Linked DNA regions of Homo sapiens: region 2 is linked to region 1. Evidence: promoter capture Hi-C in 16 types of primary human blood cells and fetal thymus (Javierre and others, 2016). All regions are on one chromosome and are shown on one strand. Each heading gives the region's core, a stretch centred on a gene start or on the middle of the fragment in contact. The rest is flanking DNA. Distances are from core to core; before and after follow the strand shown.

What was found. The method cuts DNA at HindIII sites, captures the fragments that hold promoters and counts their contacts. A CHiCAGO score of 5 or more calls a contact.
Region 2: a fragment that was not itself captured here is called in contact with the fragment with the promoter of LINC01277 in region 1 in 3 of 17 cell types (total B cells, naive B cells and neutrophils); the score reaches 5.6 in total B cells.

Annotation. Positions count from the first base shown.
Region 1 is chr6:143,034,128-143,040,570 of GRCh38, forward strand. It overlaps LINC01277 (long intergenic non-protein coding RNA 1277), which reads right to left and starts at 3,455. Exons shown (of 3, transcript NR_038987.1): 1 at 2,862-3,455. RefSeq lists enhancers at 831-1,000, 5,713-5,782. The HindIII fragment of the contact is 5,129 bases long and covers 626-5,754 here.
Region 2 is chr6:142,788,073-142,794,515 of GRCh38, forward strand. All of the region lies in intron 2 of HIVEP2 (HIVEP zinc finger 2), which reads right to left. Among named protein-coding and RNA genes, the nearest start is that of HIVEP2, 150 kb to the right of the region's middle. The HindIII fragment of the contact is 7,164 bases long and covers 1-6,443 here.

The DNA of each region.
Region 1 (6,443 bases), core at 2,205-4,704:
ATCACTGATATCCTTTCTTCCATTTGATCTAATCAGCTATTGAAGCTTGTGTATGCTTCATGAAGTTCTCGTGCTGTTTTTTTCAGCTCCCTCAGGTAATTTATGTTTTTCTCTACACTAGTTATTCTTATTCTAGTTAGCCATGCCTCTAACCTTTTTTCAAGGTTCTTAGCTTCCTTGCAATGGGTCAGAACATGCTCCTTTCGCTCGGAGAAGTTTGTTATTACCCACCTTCTGAACCCTACTTCTGTCAATGCATCAAACTCATTCTCCGTCCAGTTTTGTTCCCTTACTGGCGAGGAGTTGTGATCCTTTGGAGGAGAAGAGGCTTTCTGGTTCTTGGAATTTTTAGCCTTTCTGCTCTGGTTTCTCCCCATCTTTGTGGTTTTATCTACCTTTGGTCTTTTATCTACCTTTGGTCTTGATGTTGGTTTTGGTGTGGATGTCCTTTTTGTTGATGTTGATGCTATTCCTTTCTGTTTCTTGGTTTTCCTTCTAACAGTCAGGTCCCTCAGTTTCAGATCTGTTGGAGTTTGCTGGAGGTCCACTCCAGACCCTGTTCGCCTGGGTATCACCAGTGGAGGCTGCAGAACAGCAAATATTGCTGCCTGATCCTTCCTCTGGAAGCTTTGTCCCAGAGGGGCACCCACCAGATGCCAGCAAGAGCTCTCCTTAATGAGGTGTCTCTCAGCCCCTACTGGGAAGTGTCTCCCAGGCAGGCTACATGAGGGTCAGGGACCCACTTAAGGAGGCAGTCCATCCATTATCAGAGCTCGACCACCATGCTGGGTGAGCCACTGCTCTTTTCAGAGGTGTCAGCCAGGGACATTTAAGTCTGGAGAAGCTGTGCCCACAGTTGCCCCTTCCCCCACGTGCTCTGTCCCAGAGGGACGAGGGTTTTATCTGTAACTCCCTGACTGGGGCTGCTGCCTTTTGTTCAGATATGCCGTGCCCACAGAGGTGAAATCTAGAGAGGCAGTCAGCCTTGCTGAGCTTCAGTGGGCTCCGCCCAGTTCCAGTTTCCCGACAGCTTTGTTTACTCTATGAGCATAAAACCACCTACTCAAGCCTCAGCAATGGTGGATGCCCCTCCCCCTGCCAAACTCCAGCGTCCCAGGTCAATTTCAGACTGCTGCCCTTGCAGTGAGAATTTCAAGCCAATGGATCTTAGCTTGCTGGACTCCATGGGCATGGGACCCACTGAGCGAGCCACTGGAGGGAATCTCCTGGTCTGCCAGTTGTGAAGACCATGGGAAAAGCGCAGTATTTGGGCAGAAGCGTACTGTTCCTCCTGGCACAGTCTCTCATGGCTTCCCTTGGCTAGGGAAGGGAAATCCCCTGACACCTTGTGCTTCCCAGGTGAGGCGACGCCCCACCCTCCTTCGGCTAGCCCTCTGTGGGATGCACCCACTGTCCAACCAGTCTCAATGAGATGAACCAGATACCTCAGTTGGAAATGAAGAAATCACCCATCTTCTGCATCGATCTCACTGGGAGCTGCAGACCGGAGTTCCTACTAGGCCATCTTGGAAGAGTCCCTGGTTTTTCTTCTTGTGCTCCCATGTCCTCTTATTTATCACTTTAATGTGATTATTTTTGGTATTTCATTATTAAGTATTATATTGGCTTTGGATTTCTAAAAAATACTTGTTACCAAGTTAAGAAAGTCTGCTTTTCCCTTGGCACACCAGGAATTTTAATCAAAAGTAACGTTAACATTTATAAAATGTCCTTTAGCATCTACCAAGATTACATTAGCATATTTCCTAAATTTGAACAATTTTTGTACTCTTGAATAAATTTGATCAGGTAAAGTGTATTGCTCTTTTAGTATACTGTTGGATTTGATATTTCATAACAGACTTTTTATTTGTGCTTATTAGATAGATTGGCCCATGGTTTTGTGACATATTTATCAGGTTTATTGTATCAAAGTTATGATTTCTATAGCTTTGTAACAATTAAGTACTACAGAACTTAACTATTCGTCAGTATTTGGTAAAAATTTCTGAGAAAATGAACATGGCCCAGAGCCATTTTACAGTATTTTTTTTACAAAAGTTTCAACTTTTCTATGGATATTGATCTATTTTGGCTTCCTATATTTTATTCAGGCAAATTGGTTGTTTGTAGTTTCCTTAAAAATATCTATTTTAAAATTTTATACTCAGAAAAGTACAAAAATTTTATTTAAAAATTATAATTTCCTTTGGTTATACCTTTTCTGTTTTCTAATATTGTATTTGTGTTCTCTTAGGTTTCCTTTGGCTAGACTTGCTAGGGATTGATTGGTTTGTTTTGTTTTTATAACTTTTCAAATACAAGATCACTGTTTTTATCAATAAATTGTAATGTTTGGCTTTCTCATGTTTAAGTCATTGCTTTTACATTCTTTTACTTTCTTTTGATTTATTTTCTTCTTTTTAATTTCCTGAGTTATACATTTATGTTATTTTAAACAAAATTTTTCATAAGGTAAGATTTGGTTACAATTCACAAGATTATATTATGTTATCAGGATTCTTTTTTCCTCTTTGATACAAGAGTTATCTAGAAGACTATTTTTATTTCCAGGTGATTTTTAGAAATGCTTTATTTTGATGCTGATGTCAGTATTTATTGCATGGAGTCAAACATATATTTCCTATACAAAATTATTCATTTTCAAATATATTTCTAATTATACAAGTAGCACATGAATACATTTTTATTGTGAAAGATTTATATAATGTAGACAAAACTATTTCCTCTAACCCCATCTCTAGTGGCAACATTAGTTACTGGCTTATTGTATATCATTTCAGTCTCTTTTCTATTCATCTGTGTCCTCTCACCAGGAACTGGTACCATCCTGTACTTACTGTATGTAGCACACTGATCCATACATGCATAGGCATTGCTCCCACCTGCAGGCTGCTGCCTAGCTTGTGGCTAATACGGGGATATAGAGAAGCCAATTCATCTGGTTGCTCCTGCTGAAGTACACCAACTAATCACCTTCTTGATTACTTCTGATGCACTCCTGCTCATTGTATCTGCCAACCCAGAGCATGAAGTAACTCTTTTATAGAAGTTTTTCCTGCATGCAGTTTGACCATACATTTCTCCTTCAAGTGATTGTGTTTTCATCTTTCAGTTATTCAACATAATTTTGTGTAGTCAGTATTCATTTACAGTTACCAACACATTTACCCATCCAGTATTCTTCATTCCCTCCTTGAATTTCCATCTTTTCAAATGAGATCATTTTTACTTTTGCTAGTAGAAATCCCTTCAGCATTTCAGTGTAAAACTCCTAGCAATAAATTATGTGAATTTTTGTTTTTTGTTTACTTTTTGCTTCTTTTTGTTGCTTGTTTGTTTGAAAATGTCATCATTTAACGTTCATTTCTGAAGATTGTTTTTCACACGTTGGCCTTTAGTTTCTTTCAGTACTCTAGAGATAGCATTCCATTATCTTCTGGCTTCTATTGTTGCTATTAGAGACAGCTGCCAGTCTCATTGTTGCTCTTTTGTAGATAATGTGTCTTTTTTCTTCTGGCTGGTTTTTCCATCTTCTCTGTCTTTGGTTCAGCAGTTTTATTGTGAGTTGCATAATTGTGGTTTTCTCTATACTTATCCTGCTTGAGGGTTTGCTGAGCTTCTTAACCAGTGGGTTAAATGTATTTTATCTGCTTTAGAAAATTCCCAACCATTATCCCTTTGAATATTGCTTCTGCTCTATTTCTTTCTCCTTGCCCTCTGAAACTTCAGTTTTACATGGTAGACCTTTCATACTTGTCCTGTATGTCTCTTACATTTGTTTCTTATTTTTTCTCTTTCTTTTTTTCTTCCATGCTTCACTTTGTATATTTTTCATTGATATGTTTCCAGTTCACAAGTCTTGTATTCAATAGTGTCCAACCTATTGTTAAACTCATATATTGAGTTTTTAAATTTAATTTTGAAATAATTTACTTTGAAATATTTTTATCAGAAAAGTTGCAAGAACAGTAGAATGAACTCCCACATTCTCTTCATCCAGATTCCTCAGTTAATAGTTTCATATTTTCTCCATCTCTTTTTGTAAAGATGATAGATAGATAGATAGATAGATAGATAGATAGATAGATAGATAGATGTGTATTTTCAAGGATATGATACCTTTTTTGAATATTTTGAGAGCAAGTTAAGCAAGTTGAAACCTTTATGTCCTATCATCTGTAAATATTCCTATTACTACTTCTCCCAAAGACACTCTCCTACAGAGTAATTGCCAAGCCTTTCAAATCAGAAAATGGACAGCGATAAATACCAGCATTCAAACCACAGTTCATTATTATCCAACGTTCCAGGCTTATCTTGAAATTTCTCTACCTCCATCCTTGAATCATCCACTTTTACAAGGAGTCCTTGTTGTTTGTTATGGAAATTGGAACCTACATACTTGTTATTAATTGCTACTGGGGTGTCATTGCACCTAGGTCCTCTCCATGGTCAGAATTTTGAAATATATGTATGTATTCATGGATATGTACACAGACATATTCACTTGCATTGATAATTTTTTTTGTTTCTTTCCTCCCTTCCCTTTCACTCTTTCCTTCTTTCCTTCCTTTTGCTCTTTCCTTCCTTCCTTCTTCCTTCTTACCATAACAATAGCAATGAGTTATTTTTTTCGCTTCCCCTTTTCATATTTGTAAATTTGTTTTCCCACAGAGAGAAATCCAGCTTCCATTAGCTTCAATATAGATACTTTCTTGATCAATCCTCCTTTACATAATTAATTTCCTAAAAATGCTAGGTACTGCCATGGCCAACTCATCACTCCTGATTTCATCTCCAGGCAAGTTGTCACTTTTGAACTCTTCTCCCCACCAAACCCTGGTCTGTTTGATATGCCACTGCCTCCATGCCCCTGTCTCCACCTTCTGGCTGTTAGACACATTGTTAACTGTGCACCCCAACTTACTCTTACCTTCACCTCCCTGGTGCTTCTTCTGCTGAGCATACAACTGCCACCATATGTACCCCCTATACATGCTTCCTTGGACACCAGGCACTCTGCTGCCTCCACATGGCTTTCCCATTATGACTTCTTTTGCCCCTATGCACATCACTATCTGTATGCCCGCCACCCTACTTTCTTGGCTGTTGGACACACTGCTATCTCTACTGATCCTTTCCACTGCAGTTTTCTCCATATATTGATTTCTTAACTGACGATAGTATATTTTTTCAAATTTAGAATGCCTAAAGAAATCTTTTTTATAGGTTAGTTTTACTGAAAATTGTCCATTTCCTCATCAATTTTGCACTTTATTTTCTTAAACATATTCATAAAAATTATTTGTAAATTCTCATTTGCTGATTACAATATCTTGATCATCTATAATTGTGTTTCTATTGTGTGTGTTTTTTTCTCTTGATTATTGGGCAAATGAACTTGATCTTCCACATCTAGTAATTTAAAAAATGTTAGACATTATGTATAATAAAACCATAAAGGGTCCAGATGATATTGCCTTCCACCGAAAGTGTTCCCTTTTTCTTCTGTTGGGCAGGTAGAATAGCCTTTGATCACCTCAATCGAGTCAGAGATTATTCTGAATCAGAAGCTGGTTTCAGTTTTGCTAAGTGTACCTCCGATTCACTTCTGTTCTTAGGGTGTAGCCCTCCAGGGCTTTCAATTGAGAGCCTGGTGGATCTCTGTCTTCCAGCCCTAAAAGATAACAGCAAGTTTTCAGTTTAGCTCTTTAACCTCCTGCTCCATAAAGCTTCAAAATTCAGCAACTCGCTTGAAAGGAAGACTGGCAATGTGTTTGGGACACTCTATAGTCTTCTGTGAAGAATAGAGATCTCTTTTGTTGTTTTCTTTGAGGGACAGCCTGTAGCTTTGCTCAGAATCTGTAAATATTCCCATCAAAAAACCACCTGTAAATTACCAATGTCAATTCCCTACTCCCTCTTATGTTTTTATATTTTACTTCTTTTGTTTTGGGGCTCCTCTTTTCCATAGCAGTTCGTTGATTCTCTAGCACCATGACACTGTGGGGGACTTCACTTTGCATTTCAGAAGTTTGGGGACTACTGTTTTAGCCTCCATACAGTCTCAGAATTCAGTTAATGTCTTAATCATGTATTTAGGGTTTCTCACACCTTCAGTGAGTCACCAAAGCCCCATATAACTGCTAAAAGTTTTGTTAGTTTAACTTTTTTCCGCAGCTGCATCTTTCTGCCTGGACTCAGCCTCATCCTTAGCCTGCACTCCAACCTGGCAATTTTGCCAAGAGGAAAAAATTGTGGACATCATCAAGTCATTACTGGAAAGTTCTCACTTCTCTGGAATTTTAATCCATTTAGTTCTTGTTTTTAAAACCCTCTGATTCCTTTATAAATATATAATTTACCTAGGTTTTTCTCGTTGTTAGTCCAAGTGTTGGCCTGCCACACTGACTATATCC
Region 2 (6,443 bases), core at 1,986-4,485, 250 kb before region 1:
TGTGTAAATTAAAACTAGTGAAAACAAACAAAAAAAGCAGATACATGTGCATTAGAGATTGTAACTTAGGCCTCTTTAAATAGGATTTCTGATTATTCTATGATACTTTAAGACATTTACTTATACCTAATGTTAAATGACGAGTTAATGGGTGCAGCACACCAATATGGCACATGTATACATATGTAACAAACCTGCACATTGTGCACATGTACCCTAAAACTTAAAGTATAATAAAAAAAAATCCCCCCCTCAAAAAAAAGACATTTACTGAATGCCTACGATATGCCAGAAATGGGCTGTATTTACACAATACAGAAAAAGAAAAGACAAGCATTGCATTTAAGAGCACAGAGCTGGCTGGGTATGGTGGCTCACACCTGTAATCCCAGCACTTTGGGAGGCCCAGGCGGGCAGCTCACTTGAGGTCACGACTTCAAGACCAGCCTAGCCAACATGGTGAAACCCTGTTTCTACTAAAAATACAAAAATTAGCCGGGTGTGGTGGCTGGAACCTGTAATCCCAACTACTCAGGAGGCTGAGGCAGGAAAATCTCTTGAACCCGGGAAGCAGAGGTTGCAGTGAGCCAAGATCACACCACTGCACTCCAGTCTGGGTAACAGAGCAAGACTCCATCTCGAAAAACAACAACAACAAACAAACAAACAAAACAAACAAACAAACGAAGAGCTCAGAGCTTCAGCGGGGAGATATTTGTGAATTAGTTCAACAAATGACATAAATATAAACAGATTACAAAGGAGATTACAAGAGGGAATGGTCACTCCTTTCTGGAAAGTTAGAAAAGGCTTTCTAGATGTAACGACACTGAACTTAATATTTAAATAAAACTATATATGCTAATATACAGAAATGCACAGTTATCAATGTTAGATTTAGAGACAAATACATTTGTCAGATGAAATAAAAATACAAGACTCTACCATTCCGGTTTCTCTATGATTATATATACTTTATTTTGTGTGATGGAATGTTGGTTCATGAGGATGCTTGGGGAATAAGGTGTTCTAGTTAATACAATCTTATGGTTAGGTAAAGACCACAGAGAAAATCATTTTTTGTTAAACATCTGGTGGTAATTTATTTTCAAAAGTACACTAGCTTTTGCCTTGAGTTAATTACAGTCTACTAACCATAATTTAATCTTCCTTTGATGGTTCAGGATCATATAGTGTTCTCCAGTCATTCTGCATCTTGGCTGTGCTCATCTGGTATTGGCCATGCAAACTTCTCCCAACATGTGTCCTTAAAACACACGTCATGTTTTCTAAGATAAGAGCTATAACCTAGGTTTGTTTTCTTGACCCAATTTGACATCACGTAAGTCATATATCTGACTAACTTGATTTTAGGAGCAAATATATGACTACAAACTTCTATTACTATTTAAATGTTTAGCTTATTCTAAATCATATAGGCAGTGTTTAGGGCTATGGAATAATTTAGAAACCATTGAATTTAATCTATCAGGCAACTAACAAATGAAAAAGGTGAGAACCAGAGAAGTCAAAAGACTTGCTTAGGGACCCACAGCTCATTATGATAGTTCTGGTCTACAGCTTAGGTCTTTAAACTGTCAAGTCAATTATTTTCCATTATCCACACTACTTCCTCTTATTCAAAGTTTATTTATCTAACCCTATTTCAGAAATTGATTGAATGAGTAAAGAAGTAAAAAATGAAGAATTAATAATTTTGAAATTCAAATGAGCAAAGATATTTATAATCCATAATCAAAGAAACAGAAAATAACAGTAGTTAAGGATCAATGCTCCACTGAAATGTTTATCAATTTTTATACTAAATAAAAATAAATGCAACAAAAATTTTAATTTTTCCAAAATGAGTAAATGACAGAAAAATTAGAAGATAATCAATTTCCATAAGCAGTGCATTATTTAGTATCCAAAGCAAAAATAATTACTTAATTTACAACCAATTTTCAGTATAAGCTATTTTCTAAGATTTTTATGCTCTTATAACGAAAATTTTTCAGTAAATATTTTAAGTAGAGTTATGAGACCATCTTCCTAAAAGCAAAGATAGCTCTTTCATTGAAAGTCAATGGAGGCAAGCCCCTTGTTCATAATACCAAAATTTCACCTAGGAGACCTGTGAAGACATGGTAACACCAACTCCACAGGCACTACTTCTTCTGCTGCATTGGTTTTGCAAAAGGGCAGAGCCAAGTAGATGTTTTGTATAATTAAAAATCTTTTTTTGCTCTCTCTTTTGTGATACATTTTCCCATTTTTATTTTTTTCCTTCCCTTCCATTTCCTCTATCTTATCCCTTAATATGGTAGGTAAATAACTACTTCTAGCCAAGCCAGCTTAAACATTTACTCTTTAACTAAATATTTGGAGAGACAGGGATAAAAGCAAAAAAGGTGTATTTGACTACCATACTCTAGTGAGAAGTATATATGACACAACAAAGTCATAACTCCAATGTACTGTTTTCTCAAGTTTTATCTTTTACAATGCTTATGTTTACTATTCGGTTGCTGCAGATATACATAAATAAGGTCATGATTCTCCAATTTTCTTTTTACTCCTGGGTATGCCAAGACTAGCATAAAGAAAGGCCGCAGTTAACTTTGAATTAAGTAAACAAAGAGAACAGAGAAATCAAATCATAAAATATGCATTATATTCATAAGTATTCATATAACAGGCTGACCTTGCCTGAAGAAAATCCATCTTTGAGGGAAGATCCTCCTGCATCAGTGGAAATAATACCCAAAGCAATGAAAGCACAGCTGAAAATATGAATTGCATCCCACATTTCATGCTACAAACAATTCTCAGATGTGATGAAAAATAAAATTGTCTTCAGTCTCTCGTAGGTCTACACACAATAAAAATCTCTCAAAAAGAAATCAAGGCAAAGCCTATGACATATCATATAACCTAATCAGACAGACCCTATCTACTTCTAATAACTGAGCTGCTGAAAGAATCAATTCTATTTCCTCTCTTGACAATTTTCCTAGAGAGTGGGGAAATTGGTCTGTGTGCCTGTGTAGAGATATACAACCTCAGGAAACCAAAGAACAAATCTGGACTCACACTGTCCCAGGTTCTATAAGGTACATAGGGTAAGTGGATACTATCTCTCAAGACTTCAGAAATTGACATGAGGTTAGCACACAGCAAATAACCTGAACATCAGTTGTTCTCAGAGATTAGGAACCATATGATCAAAAATGGCTTGAACAACCAGGAAAGACTAGACAGAGGGAAGGGGCTCAAGTGGAAGCCATGATTTGCACAAATGAATTAACTAGATAAAGATTTATTATTAACCTGTGCTACATGGTTATTCAGGTACCTCCTTGACATTTTGACAAACTGTGAATGGCATTCATACTTTTGGTCTCATCTCAGAATATATCATTGCCTACAAAGTTTAAGGCTAAAAAAATTCAAGTTTCAAGCAGGCATTTATAAGATCCTATTGGGCAAATTCTGTCAGGCAATTCCAGAATTCCATCTGCAGGCTCATTCATTCAGTCAAATTACATTTTTTCCAAAGCTCATATATACTAATGTGATGAAATAAAACATTACTAAAATGCAAACTTCATATTTCTTTGAGTTTGAATCCAGATATTACTGCCTCATTTACCAAAAAATCCCCAAATACATATAAATTTAAATCAATTTCAATGACACCAAGTAAGAATTAAAAATAGTGTGCATGTGTAGGATCAAGACAAATGAGAGAACATTCTGCTTTCAAAGAGCTTACTGTCTAATGAGTAAGGAAAACATATGAACAACGAGCTATAAAAGCAATAGAGGCATGAAATGGTGTTGTGAGTATATGAAGACAGGAGATTGCTTAGAAATGCTGCATTTAAGGAACTCTATCTTAGATTTTGAAAGAAGGCTCAGATTTGCAGGCAGAGATGCATTTAATGTGAGGTTATTATCGTGACATAGACAAGAGAAGGGGTATTGGAGAAACAGTCTGTCTGCCTAGAACATTAGGCACACTGAGGTGATGGTGGTGGCAGAAGGTAAAGAACTTTAGTTGGCAGACACAGAGAGACATCAGTGGTTCTGAGAAGACAACTGCCACAGTCACAGAGACACTTTAGAAAGCTATTATATCCCATTTCTTTCCATCCCTTTCGGGCAAACTCTGCAAATGTATAGCCTGAAAAAGAATAAAGATTAAGAAGAAGTTTGTTTTAAGGCAAGGAGACTTGGAGCAAAGGAGGAAAAGATACAAGTAATAAGATAATGGAATAAACTCTTTAAAAAGTGGGATACTATGCAGCCATAAAAAAGAATGAGTTCATGTCCTTTGCAAGGACATGGATGAAGCTGGAAGCCATCATTCTCAGCAAACTAACAGGGGAACAGAAAAACACGGCATGTTCTCACTCATAAGTGGGAGCTGAACAATGAGAACACACGGACACAGGAAGGGGAACATCACACACCGGGGCCTGTCGGGTGGTGGAGGACAAGGGGAGGGAGAGCATTAGGACAAATACCTAAGCATGCGGGGCTTAAAACCTAGATGGCAGGTTGATAGGCGCAGCAAACAACCATGGCACATGCATACCTATGTAACAAACCTGAACATTCTGCACATGTATCCCAGAATTTAAAATAAAATAAAATAAAACTAATAAATAAATAAATGAATATTTCATTAAAGAATGAATAAAAGAAAGTGGGAACCAAAAAGGAACTCAAAAGCATAAATAAGGAATCTGTCAGAAGAAAGCATGAAAATTTTTCTGTTTTAGAATGGAGGGAAGGAAGATATAATGAAGCAAGATAACTTTTCAGATAGAAAAGAAACTGAGGAGTCCCTTCTTAATATCTCAGAAAAGTAGAAGGTGAGGTCTGCTGATGGGAGCAGGGAACTAGCTGTGCTAGAGGGGCTTGATGAGTGGGGAACAGTCAATTTGCCTTAAGTATTAGTACTTGCAGCAGTCTTAGGAAAAACACTACTTCTTATTAGGCCATTTAAAAAGAGTATTTTCCAAACTTTTTTCTGAGTCAATAACCATATCCAAATAATTTAATAATATATCCAAAAGTTTATCTTTTATTCTAAAATAAAACTCTTAAGATGATTAACTATAAGCTATTATGTATGAACAGTAGATTTAAGACTGTTATATTTTTTAAAAACTGTATATATCTCTCATAATTCTACATAACTACCTAGAGTAGAAAATTGTGATACTCATGCTGTGCTTCATTGTATAGAAATTTAGGGAATATTTACTGATGACTTGAATATTTACTTTTTAGCATCATTAGTGACTGAGGTGATTCTTTTCAGTGAATTAACCAATAATTTAACAAAGGAAATTGATGACGATATTCTATGCCACATTTCTTTTCCGATACCATGATTACCAAAATATGTATTGCTTGATACTATGGGCAGAGTAAGGTGTCAATTCTAGTATATTTAGCAATTAAAAAGGAACTCCATGTTTTATAATTTATTAATTTCTTTCTTTCTACCTCCCCCCTCCCACCTCCCATCCTTCCTTCTCTTTCTTTCTTTCTTTCTTTCTTTCTTTCTTTCTTTTTTCTTTCTTTCTTTCTCTCTCTCTCTCTCTCTCTCTCTGTCTGTCTTTCTTTCCTTCTTTCTTTCAGACAGGGTCCAGCTCTGTCACACCCAGGCTAAAGTGCCTCCCTCTGCCTTCTGCCTCAGCCTTTCAAGTAGCTGGGACTATAGGTGCCCACCACCATATCTGGCAAATTTTTGCATTTTTTGTAGCGACAGGGTTTTGCCATGTTGCCCAAGCTGGTCTCAAACTCCCGGGCTTAAGCGATCTGCCTGCCTTGGTCTCCCAAAGTGTTGGGATTACAGGTGTGAGCCACTGTGACTAGCCCTCATGGTTTATAATTTCTAACTGTCTACTTAAAATGAAGTGATATGGGAGAAATTTATCTGGACTCAAAATCAGGAAGAATTTTATTTTTATTTAAAATTAGCTTTATAGACACTACATTTTAAGCCTATTCTATTCCCTCTTTGGGCTGACTGATAGAAAGCTAAGATCTAAATCTGTGGCCATCTTATAGGAAGGATCTAGACATTCTAGGCATGTGTTTTGGTCACTAACATCACTTCTAGCTTCAAGTACTATTTCTACTTTTCTTTCCCATTGTCTCATACTGATAATTAACAATATGTACACAAACAAACACACAGATCTCAATAATGGGGACTATTAAATAAGGCAATAAATGTAACTAGGAACTGTTTCCAAAGTTGAATCTATTTGTATATTTCAATAGTTTGAGCAACACAACTGTGAAGACTAATTAGTTCCAGCTCTGTGAAAAATGACAGAAGCTCTCTGAATATGTGCCTTTTCCTTAGCCTTCAACTGTATTGATTCCAAGAGAAGAAGAGCTTTCGTAAATATAACAGAAAA